Regions from separate parts of the Homo sapiens genome. Here all the other regions are linked to region 2. Evidence: promoter capture Hi-C in human tissues and cell types (Jung and others, 2019). All regions are on one chromosome and are shown on one strand. The core of a region is centred on a gene start or on the middle of the fragment in contact, and the rest is flanking DNA. Distances in the headings are between cores, read along the strand shown.

Evidence for each region. The method cuts DNA at HindIII sites, captures the fragments that hold promoters and counts their contacts. A contact is called where the count stands out against the background at its distance.
Region 1: a contact is called between a fragment that was not itself captured here and the fragment with the promoter of PKDCC in region 2, in 2 of the 25 tissues and cell types used here (dorsolateral prefrontal cortex and pancreas).
Region 3: a contact is called between a fragment that was not itself captured here and the fragment with the promoter of PKDCC in region 2, in 2 of the 25 tissues and cell types used here (heart right ventricle and neural progenitor cells).

Annotation. Positions count from the first base shown.
Region 1 is chr2:41,986,441-41,990,104 of GRCh38, reverse strand. It overlaps LOC105374517 (a long non-coding RNA gene), which reads left to right and starts at 1,425. Exons shown (of 3, transcript XR_940000.2): 1 at 1,425-2,851. RefSeq lists an enhancer at 1,797-1,966. The HindIII fragment of the contact is 4,472 bases long and covers 1-3,664 here.
Region 2 is chr2:42,045,995-42,050,139 of GRCh38, reverse strand. It overlaps PKDCC (protein kinase domain containing, cytoplasmic), which reads right to left and starts at 2,119. Exons shown (of 7, transcript NM_138370.3): 1 at 1,302-2,119. The coding sequence starts at 1,940. RefSeq lists enhancers at 16-517, 1,231-1,490, 2,991-3,110, 2,734-3,238, 3,239-3,742 and silencers at 1,531-1,600, 1,731-1,830, 1,841-2,020, 2,171-2,420, 2,531-2,820. The HindIII fragment of the contact is 20,910 bases long and covers 1-4,145 here.
Region 3 is chr2:42,006,898-42,010,885 of GRCh38, reverse strand. No RefSeq gene overlaps it. Among named protein-coding and RNA genes, the nearest start is that of PKDCC, 39 kb to the left of the region's middle. The HindIII fragment of the contact is 7,796 bases long and covers 1-3,988 here.

The sequences.
Region 1 (3,664 bases), core at 499-2,998, 60 kb after region 2:
TCCTGCCATTCTGCCTTTGGGCTTTGTGTCTCAGCCTCTGTTATTTCTCTTCTGTTTGATTGACAGCCCATTTTGGTGTCACATTTCTAGGCTGACCTCTGCCTTCTCCAGCAGAGTGCAACTCTGGGACTTACCCTGGGGCCTCACGCTCTGAGCCAGGCTCAGGAGCCCTCATTTACCCTACGGGCCACAGGCTGGGCACCCAGCACCAGCCTTCCAGGCTCAGGAGGAGGCTGAACAGTAAGAATTAAACATGCTGGTGTCTCTTTTAAAAATCTAGCTTCTCCCTTTGTATTCTCCTGTCTGTGACACAGTACCCCCTTCCTCTCTCTGCTTAGAACTGGCAATTATTCATCATTTATAAATTGAAGATAATCCCATTTCCTGATGACTCCTGCAGATCAGGGGTTGGAGGAGAAGAGTTTCTTAAGAACTTCCATCCCTGTCTACTATTCACAGAGGAAATAACTCAAATGCCTCTATTTCTCAACTATGAACTTCTAAGGTCTGGTTCTTTCCAAAGAGATTTCTGTGTATTAAATCCTTTCATAATGGCAGTAGTCTTCTATCAGATTTTAAACCCAAAGGACAATTGTTCCAGGTACATTTCAAGCTACATATGGCAGACAGCTGTCGGTCAAGACCACCAGACTGTGGGGCAGCAGCACTTCTCTCCCCAGAGACCATTCCTTTCTGTGTTTCCTTTGACCTGGGGTGAAGTTGGAATCGGAGCTAAAATTAGGGCTGAGAGGCAATCTAGGATTTATTGGAGTGGATGTTGGTGTTGAAGTTATTTTAGTTATTTTATTCAGGGTGAGCATCGGGTTAGGGAGGCTGGGGACTTGGATTCAGATTGCTATGGTATTAAAGCACAGTGGGTAAGGGTCCGGTAAGGTTAGGGTTAGGTTGGATTAGGGTTCCATGCAAGGCTGGGGTCAGTGTGTGGTTGCTGTTGGGGTCAGCATTAGGGCTGGATCAGGTGCTTTGCTGGACTGTTGGATGCTCATTGGTGGGGAAACTCCATCTGGGGATTTTGCCACCTGATAGGGTTTGGCTGTGTCCCCACCTAAATCTCACCTTGAACTGTAGTTCCCATAATCCCCAAGTCTTGTGGGAGGGATCTGGTGGGGGGTAATTTAATCATGGAAGCTGTTACCCTCATGCTGTTCTCGGGATAGTGAGTTCTCACAAGATCCGATGATTTTATAAGGTGCTTTCCCCCATTTTGCTTGGCATTCTCCTTCCTGCTACCATGTGAACAAGGAGGTGTTTGCTTCCCCTTCCCCCATGATTGTAAGTTTCCTGAGGCCTCCCTAGCCCTGTGGAACTGTGAGTCAATTAAGCCTCTTTCCTTTATAAATTACCCAGTCTCGGGCAGTTCTTTATAGCAGCATGAGAAAGGACTAACACACCACTCCTCAATGTACATTCTCATGGAGCCAAACCCTTGGTCCTGCCATGCAGTTTTAGGCTGAATGAGGCAAGGGCATGCTGTTTTCCCTCTGGGGTTTGGGGTTTAGGTGCCACGTATTAACTCGTGGGAAGCTTGGCAAGACCCATCCTTGGGGTTCATCTCTTCTGGCTCCCACAGAGGCAGGCAGGCGGGTGAAGGCAGCAGAGGGTTCAGATGTTTGTCTATCCTCCTCCACTGCCAGGAAGTTAGGGTAAGACTAAAGGACTTAGTCTCAGGATCTGAGGCACACAGTGGGCCTGCTGGGTCCCCGTGAGCGTTAATGGCCAGACACAAACTCCTCCTGTCCTTGTACCTGGTGCCCGGATGACCAGTTTGCTCTCTTCAAGCACTTTGAAGAAGTAGCTGAGAATGGCAATAAACTGATTCCGGTCCTCTGTCTCTGTGAAGGGCTAGACAGGCAGCATCTCAGTGCCTTTATGGGCTATTTCTGCAGAAGGACAGCAGGCAGACCCAGATAAAGAGCCCACATGCCCGCAGCCCATTGCCTACCACTGCAGACATCGCCATGGCCTGAATGCTGCCCCTTGGGCTTCTGCTCTTGCCAAGCCCACTGTTCCCCACACTCTAGTCACACCGATGCTACCCTAAGCACCAACCCCAGATGCCTCCATAGCTTTGTGGATGCCACTCATCAGCCTGGAATGTCCCCTCACATGCATCTACAGGGTCCCCTCATCTCCCAGATCCAGCCCTTGTGACACTGCATTGCATGTCTTTGTTTATGGATTAAATGTAGGGACAGTGTCTTGTTCATACCGTATCCCCAGAACCTGGCACAGGGACTGGAAGAGAGTGGATGCAAGGTCAATGTCAGTTAAAAGATGGAAGAGCAGGAAAGACCAGGCCCTCAGGCTAATGCAGTTACATGTATTTTATTAGGACTTAGGTCTTTTTATAGAGCATCTTCAGCTCCTCCATACTTCAAACATCTCTATGCATTTTTATTTGCTCCCGTTTTTTCACTAGTATTGAATTCAGTAAACCTAGCAAGTAACCATATCTAGGTGGTGTGGGAGTATGCAACACTCCAAAGTACATTACAGCTGCAAAGTTGGAAGCTTAAAATGCCTCCTCAACATCACTGACAAACAGAACACATAGATAGAGGGAACCTTTCCTATTTCCCCTAGCCATGCCTTGGCTTTCTGACGAAACTTGACTCCTAGTAAGTTTTATTTATTTATTTTCCTTTAAGAGCTAATATTTATTGTACCCTTAGTATACCTAGAAACTGTTTTAGGCTCTTTTCCCCCATGTATTAATTCATATAATCTGTTCAACAACCCTGTGAAATAAGTACAATTATTATACCTATTTTACAGATGAGGAAACTGAGGACCAGAGAAAACAACTAGTTTTCCAGAGCTCTCACCATTGGTATGTGGCAGAACAAGGATTCAAAGCTAGATGATGTGGCTCCATAGTCCATGCTCTTACTGTTCCTTTCTACTGCTTCCTAAAATATCTCTCAAATTCATGCCTCCTTTTCTCTTCCAGTAGATACCATTTAAACCCTCTTTTTTTGTATTTTTATTTCTATTATGTTCTGAATTGATCTCCCTAGGCATATTCCATCCTTTTTCTTTCTTTCTGGGCACTATAGTCAGGATGACCACTGTGAAAGGATAAATGTCATTCCCCTGTCCCCCGCCCCATTGTGGTGGCTTAGAGATGATGCCTGCAACATCTTCGACATTCTACACATGGGAGTTGGGTTCTAATTCCCTCCCTTGATCCGGGATCGCCTTACTGACTCGCTTGGCCAGTAGCACGCAGTGGAAGTCAATGTCTGGAACTTTCAAGGTAGGTCATACATGACTTTGAAGCTTCCACCCGGGTCTCTTGGGATCCTCCCTCTGAGCCACCTCGTAGAAAGTTTGACTAACCTATTTATAGCAACATACTGGAGAAGCCATTCACATCAGTAGTTCTAAATGAGTCTGGCCCCCCAGCCATCAAGGCACCAGAAATGTAAGCAAAGCCAGCTTCGACCCTCCAAACTAGACCATTTACCATCTGATGCCATCGAATGACCTTCATGGAGACCATAGAAGACATGAATTGCCTAGCTGATCCCTTCACAAATTACCAGCCCACAAAGTTGGGGGATAAAATACAATGGTTACTGTTTCAAGTTGTAAAATGTTGAGATGGTTTGTTGTGCAGTGGTAGATAACTGGAACTTCATTA
Region 2 (4,145 bases), core at 870-3,369:
CAAGTGTCTGACCAGGGTTGGGGAATACGATGGGGGAGGGGGAGACTGGGAGCCAACAGGAGTATAAACAACTTTTGGGCCAGTCTCTCCTGCTCTACGACGCCCACCCATCTCCCTCCAGGGCTGGGGTGCCATCTCACTCCTAAGGAAAGGAGAGAGGGACTCCTGGGTTTCCAGTCATTTCTGCTGGGTGCAGAAAGGTTAGTTTGAGTGGGCTGGTAGGTGGAAGGTGTGTGCAAGATTTCATCCGTTGGGGAGGCTGCACACACCCATGTTCACCGGGCCAACAGCGGTCAGGGATTCCCCTCTGTTTGCTCAGACATGTGCAAAGGGAATAGTCTGTCTAATCTTAGGATGGGGGGAGACCTGAGAGAGAGGACGTGGAGTGTTAGGGCGGTGCTGGGACTGTGAGAGGCCCACTCAAAGTCTAGCTTGGAGGGGACAAGGTGGGGGTTTCAGCTCTCGCCTGTGTCTCCAGTGAACAGGCGAGGCAGAGTCCCGTTGAGTAGGAACCTGAGCATTTGGCCTTCTCAACCTTCCAGCCTCTTGGCTATCTATATACACTCAGACAGTGTGACATTTAGATCCTCAGGCCGCCAGTCTGTCCACTGAGCTGAGACCTTCAGGCTTCTCCAGGGGCTCAAGGACCCACTTTAAGGCCTGGGGAACCCTTAGTTCACTTCTGGGAAGGACTGTGTTCCCTTTTTCTAGCCTGCTCCCCAGCCCCCTTCCAGTGTCTTCTGGGTGGCGCTGGAGGTGGGTGGGTGGGGAGACTCTATAGGAATCAAGCCTGACACATGGTCTCTTTCCAGCTCTTCCCAGCCCCACTGCTGTCCCGTCTCATTTTCAAAACCAGACAAATCACTGGAAGTTGGGAGAAGTTCCATCAAGAAGGGGGACTTTATCACACAGTTGGAATTCTGACTCAAGTGTCTTGGCTTAGGGTCATTTTGGCTTGGGGTAATATCCCTGGTGTTCAACCTCCTAACTCCAGCCCGGAGTAGAGTCCTAAATCCTAATGGACTGCCCCACCCCCTGAGTTTTGGGAGCCTCTGTCCTGGCCTGTCTTTAAGAGATGTGTGGAAGCCGAGAAACCCAGGAGTTCTCCGGTAAAGGGACGCCCACCCAGGAGTGAGAAGCAGGGTGGTGCAGTGGGAAGGGCCATGGTCCGGTTTCTGCGTCTAGCTTAGCCTGGGTGCAGTCACTGGCACTCCAGATCAAGGGGTTCTCTTCCAGCCAGGTTGACAAGGTCTTGGGCACTCCCAGCCAACACCGTTACCCCCGCGTCCCCACCCTCGTACCTGCAGCACGTTGGGGTGCCGCAGCCGCTCCAGCAGCACCATCTCCTTAAGCAGCTTGTGGGCCGCCAGCCGATAGCAGCCCCTCCGTACCCCGAACTCGCGCACGCAGCTGCCCAGATCGTGGCCGCTAAAGTCCACCGCCTTGAGCGCCACCGCGGCACCGCCGGGCAGGCGGACCCGGTACACGGCCTTGGTGTAGCCTGAGCCCATGTACTGCGCGCCGGACACGTTGCGAAGCGCGGCGCAGCCCAGGCGCGGGCCCGGGCCGGGGGAGCCTGGGCCGGGAGCCGGGGGCCAGCCTGGGGCGCCGTCGGACAGGGGCCGGGCCCAAGGGGGCCGGGGGCGCGGCAGGCCGGGCCCGCCCGGAGCCAGGTCCATCAGGCGCCGCCGCTCCGGCCGGCCCGCCCCGGGCCCGGGGCCCCCGCGGGAATAGCGCTGCACCTCCTCGTAGCGCGCCCGGATCTGCCGGGCCAGCTCCCCGCGGCCCCCGCGACGGCCCGGACCCGGGGCCGGCGAAGGCTCAGGGGACTGGCCTGGCCTCGGAGGCTCCGAGCCCGGAGCGAAGAGCACGTTGAGGACGGAGCCCAGCAGGAAGGAGGCGCAGAAACCCGCGGCCACTGCCGCCCGCCGGCGCCGCATCGCTCCCCTCCCCCCGGCCGGCCGGCCCCGCGCGGCTCCCCGGCCCCGGCCCCGGGCGGCTCAGGCTCCGAGGCGGCTCCGCTCTGCGCCCCGCCGGCCCCCTGCCCAGCCCGCGCGCATGGCCCCGGCGGCCCCGACCCCGGCCCCTCGCGGGCGACACATCGGCCTGACACTTGCCTCCCTGCCGCCCTGCCCCCGCCGCTTATAAGGCCCAGAGCCGCCCCCCGCCCCCGCCCCCGCCCCCTCCCCCGCCCCCTCCCCCGCCCCTCCGCCTCCACCTCCCAGCTCCCGGCCCGAGCCCGTCCTCGGCGCCGCCCCCTCCGGCCGCCCGGCCCGGCCTTCCCCGCTGACTGACAGCGGGACCTCCTCCCGCGGCCGTCCGGGCCTGGGAAGCGGCGCGGAGGCGGCTCCGGTCCTGCCCAGCCCGCGGTCCCGCCCAGCCCGCGGTCCCCCGAGCTCCGTCTGGGAGCGGGGGAGGGGGCGGCGGCGGCCAGGAGGCGCGCGGGGGCTCCGCGCCCAACGCGAGGGCGGATAACGGGGCCGGGGCGGCCGGATAACGGGATTGGGAGGTGGATAACGGAGCCGGCCGGGCGGAGTGGGGGAAAGATAAAGGGGCGAGGCCGGCGGGTAGCGGGCTCCGGAGGGGACGAGCAGCTAAGTCCGGGGTGCGGAGATCCGAGTGATCTCAGCGCTCCCTCCTGGGACTGGGGGCCTCGGGGCGGTTTGGGCGCAGGGAAGGCGCGTGGACCCCGTCTCTCGCGGGTGGGGCCGGGGGTGGCGGCTCCTCGCTCAGCCCCGGATTCCGGATTGGGGCGATGGTGAGGGGGAAGCGGGCACAGCCGGGCCAGCACCTGCGAGCGCGCGTGGGACAGGAGCTCTAGGCATAGAGGAATGCTCGTGAGCTCGCCGAGGATGCCCTGTTCAACTCCTTTTACCAAAGTGTTTCTGATTTTCCTTGCCTCTAAAGCCCCAAATGCAGCTGGGGGTCGCTCCCTACCCCTCAAGATGCCTGGGGTCTGACGGGGTCAGCCGCGTATAAGAAACCATGTGCATGCTAGTAGCTTGGGCAAAGAGTGCGTTTGTGCCCACGGACGGCTGTCTGTGGAGTGTGTGCCTCGGCGTGTCTGAAGGGGCCATTGTGTCCGATGAAGGGAATGTGTACCTTGTGTGTAAGTTGGTGCTGACGCCACCAGAACTTCGGTCCCTCCTCCTCCCTCCCTGATTGCATCATTAGTGCTAATTGAGGGGCTTTCACACGCCAGTGCACTAGCTGTTTGGAGTGAGCTCCCCCCTCCTGGGAGAGATAAGCCGCTGCCCCTCCCCCTCGCAGCTCTCCTCTTCCCCGCCACTCTGAAACTGCCCACCTAGATCCTCTCACCTTCCTGGGCAGCTTCCTGCCTCCCTCTGGGCCAGGTTAATCTCTGTCCTCCTCACAGTGTCAGGGATTGGCTGGGGAGGGGTCAGGGAGGAGAAGGGTCCACAGCCTTTTTTCTGGGGGTGGGGGTGGGTGGGGGGGTATCCAGGGAGGGGAGATTTTCCCTGAAGAGGTCTGGCGTTCCTACAGAATGCAGTGTCTGTGATGAGAAAGGGACAGGAATTTCTGCCCTGTTCCTTTGGACATGGAAGGACCGAGGAGAGAGCTGAGTCCCTGATCTCCAGCCTATGATCCCACTGAGGTGGGCCTTCCAGCCCGGACTCCTTGTTCTCTATGGCTTGGGGAGTTGGGGCCCAGTCCGACTTGGCAAGCATGGAAAGGCAGGGTGAAGGAAGCCATGATTCCTCCGAGAACACTGGGTCTGGTGGAGTCAGGTCTGTACCGATAGAGCTGTTCTGCCCCACTCTGGGCCGTGGCTGCAGTCTGCAGGGTGTAGGGGGAAGGCTCTGAGCAGATGCCCTCTCCGCAGCCTTGCACCAGATGTCTTTGGTCTAATTAACTGTGCTGGGAAAACCAACCTGGGTTTGTAAACAGAGCTACTGGCTAAAGTCAACAGGGAACAGCAGCAAACAGCAAACCATTCCCCTCACACTCAGCCTTGGTCCAATTCAGACCCCTGGGGAAAACGGGGAGCTGGGTGGATTAGGAGGCCCCCCCCGGCCCACAGCTGAATCAGGAAAAGCCTGTCTGCCTGTGTCACCCCAATATGGCTGCTAGTTCCTTATCAGTTCCATGTCTTCTTTTCTGGGGAGGAATGAGGATTTTGGGAG
Region 3 (3,988 bases), core at 1,291-3,790, 40 kb after region 2:
GCCTCAGGCTTTAGGGCTGTGGCCGGCTGATGGAGCCACTTTGTGGTCGAGGTGGGGGTATTAGAGGGATGGATGGTTGGGGTAGTGATGGGGAGACGAAGTACCTGAGTAGTAGATTAGAAGGCTAATGGTGGGGCTGAAGGGGTGCTTGGGATCTGGGATTTGGAAAAAAGAGGGAGCTGTGGCCTCCAGGGTTAAGAATGCCACAGGCCAGGACTTCAGAAAGCTGGGGCTGTTGCCCTACAGACTCTTAGCTTAGAATGGCCAGAGACTTCCAGGGCTCTGGAGGCACATCCTAGTGTTTGAGGAAGGGGTTTAGGGACATGCCGGCCCCTTTGGACCATGAGGGAGGTTGATAACTGCCCTTTCTTCTTCAGTAGGGACCTCTGCATGCCTAGTGTTCAGGGCAAAGCCTTTAGTGTGTGGGCCACCCCTTTTACTAACCTCCACCCACAATGTCCCAACCCCTTCCTCCAGACCCTCTTAGCCCAGACTCAGACAGGAAGAGCACAGCCTTTGGCATTAGAGAGATCTGGACTCCAATTCTGACTCAGCCATTTGCTAGCTGTAAGACCCTAGCTAAATAATTTAACCTCTCTGAGTCTTGGTTTCCCCATTTATAAAAGGGAATAATAAAAGAACCTGTCTCATATGAGTGTGAGGATTAAATGAAATAATAGAACCAGAATGACTGCCATACAGGAAATGCTCAGTGTAGGCGATATAAGACAATTGATGCCAAAGGCAGCCTGGTGTGTGGGGCTAATTTTTTCTTTCTCTCCCTCTCTCCCTTCCTTCCTTTCTTCTCTCTTTCTCTCTTTCTTTTGACAGGGTCTCACTCTGTTACCTAGGCTGGAATGCAGTGGCATGATCATGGCTCTTTGCAGCCTTCACTTTTCCAGCTTAAGCAGAACTTTCTATCCCAAAGTGTGGGTGTGAGATTGAAAATGAAAGTGCTTGTGGCCAGGCACGGTGGCTTTCAGCTGTAATCTCAGCACTTTGGGAGGCTGAGGTGGATGGATTACCAGCCTGGCCAACATTGCAAAACCCTGTCTCTACTGAAAATACAAAAATTAGTCAGGCGTGGTGGTGGGCGCCTTTAGCCCCAGCTACTCGGGAGTCTGAGGCAGGAGGATTGCTTGAACCCGGGAGGCAGAGGTTGCAATGAGCCGAGATCGTGCCACTGGACTCCAGCCTGGGCGACAGAGCAAGACTCCATTTCAAAAAAAAAAAAAGAAAGTAAGTACCTGTGGTGCAGAAGCTCCTAGCGCAGTGCCCAGTGGGGGCACACATTTAATCTATTTGTTCACCTCCTCTCTGAATGTCCCCTCTGTTCTGCATAGCACTTGGGGTCCCCTTGGAGCCTGTCTTTCAGGCTTGTCCCTAGACAGCTTATGTCATGTGGCAGCCTGGCTCAGCGAGCAGCCCTGATTAGAGGGTTTTGAGCAAGGATGAGTGGAAGAAGGTCAGAGGAAGGGCAGGAAAACATGCCCTGAGGGGAGGCCTTGAGACCTTGGGTGTACTCAGAGGGGTGGTCTATCTGGCTGCTTTGCCCACTGGTCCTGCCTCTAGTCTGACACCCCAATGTCTGTATCTGCCACCCACCCAAAGCCAGTCTAAACCTCTCTGCCCCACTGACCCCAAAAAGGGGCCTTGTCTCTCCACTCCTTGGCCAATAATTCAGGCCCAAGCGGGCAGCCCCCCGCCATGGTCTTCCTTACCTGCATGTCTTCTCAATCTGACCGTAACCCTCTCCTCTCTTGATTCATCCCAGGCTTCAAGTTTTTCCCACACCTATTTAGCTCCCAACCCACCACCATCACACCACATTCTAATCCAAACCGACCACCCCATCCTCAGAATAGCCTTTCTGCCTCCCCCTCTGCCCCCTTCAGGGCTCTGACAAGGTTCCTGGGCCCCCTCTGAGATCTCTAGAGGACAGTGCCCTTCTGACTGGAGGAATACTTGCCATTCATTCCATTCTGGCGAGGGCAGAAGCCTCAGGCTGGAGCGTGTCCTATCCCCTCGCCTCAGGCCTCCAGACGCCCCTGAAGTGCCCTTCCATTTGCCCTTCTCCATCCCCCACTGAGGGCCGCACAGCTCTTGGGTACAGTGAGTTAGGTCTCGTCCCCACCTTTGTTTATGTAATCCTTCCCTGCAGTAACAAGGTGTTTACTGTTGCACAAACACATTTTGGTTTAATGGCTGACAGTAAAACTGTCTGATAAAGTTTGATTTAGCGAAAGAAAGCAAAATAAATCTGGGGGCACAGGGAGCTGTTGGGAGGAGAGTCTCCTAGGGCTTCTAGAGAAGGGGCAAGAGAGCATGGCCGGAGGGGCCCTTCTGCACTTCCCTAGCCACTCCTGCCTGTCTTTTAGCAACACCTCTGACAGCTCCACTTCAGGAAGCTGAGATCCCACTGAAGCTGTGAGCTCACGGCCCTGGCACTTTCTTGCCATAGCATTTGCTTTTGTCTGCCCTTGGGCATTGCCTCCATCCTTCAACCTCCAGTGTAACTTGTTCCTCCCCTGTAGAGCCTCCTGATTGCCTCAGCCCAGATGCAGCTGGCAGTGTGTCATGCGAGGGAGATCCCTAAACTAGAAGACCTGGGAACTAGATCTAGCTCTGGTATTTACTGGCAGTGTGGACTTAAGGAAGTCACATTGACTTTAGAGATCTCTGCTCCCTCTGCTGCAAAGGGGTATGCATGGAAAGTACTTGTTTTTTTTTTAAATTTTATTTTAAATTTTTTTTTGAGACGCAGTCTTGCTCTGTCACCCAGGCTGGAGTACAGTGGCGTGATCTTGGCTCACTGCAACCTCTGCCTCCCGGGTTCAAGTGATTCTCCTGCCTCAGCCTCCTGAGTAGCTGGGACTACAGGCGCCCGCCACCACGCCCAGCTCAGTTTTGTATTTTTAGTAGAAACGGAGCTTCACCATGTTGGCCAGGCTGGTCTCAAACTCCTGATCTCAAGTGATCCGCCTGCCTCGGCATCTCAAAGTGCTGTGATCAGAGGTGTGAGCCACCGTGCCTAGCCAAAGTACTTGGTTCTTAATAAAACCCTACCCACATTTAAGACACTGCTATCTTGCCTCCTCTGAAATCTCACGAAGCACATATTGGCTGTGAACTCCCTTGTACTCCACTGGCAAAGCAAGGCAGGGTGAGGATTTGTTCTTGTATGTGGGCGATGATTCTGCAGCCCGTTGCCAACTACTCTCTCTCCCTTCAGGGCTGTCTCCTATTCCTGATTTGTCACTATGGGACTGGGGCTGGAAAGTAGGTACCCACGTAATATTTCTGAATGTTTCATTGAAGTATAAACATATACAGAAAAGTTAAAAAATCATAAGACTACACCTTGATGAAATTTCACAAAGTGAACACACCCATGGGACCAGCACCCTGAAAATTTCTCCCACTTCTTCCCAGTTGATATCTGCTCGAGGGTGATCACTGTCTTGACTTCACCATAGATTAGTTCCACCTGGTTTTGTACTTTGTGTAAAGTAAAACTGCAGTTCTTTTATATTTGTTGCTGTGTAGTATTTCATTACATGAATATAACACCATTATTTATCCATATTGTTGATGAGTCTTTGGGTAGCTTTCAAGTTTTGTATTGTGAATAATGCTGCTATGAACACTCCTTTTTTAGGAGACAGAGTATCACTGTGTCGCCCAGGCTAGAGTGTATGAAACTCTTGTACATGTATTTTAACGAACACATTTCTTTTGGATGAATTCCTAGGATGGAACTGTTGGGTCAAAGGGTATGCACAGGCGCATCTTTAAAGATATTGCCAAGTAGTTTTCCAAAGAGGATGCGCCAATTTACTTTCCAGCCAATGTTTGGTATTGTCTGTCTTTTTCATTTTAGTCATTCTGGTGGGTGTGTAGTGGCATCTTATTGATGTTTTCATTTGTATTTCTTATTATTTAAAAAGTTGAGCACATTTTTATATGATTTTTGCCATATAGAGATGCT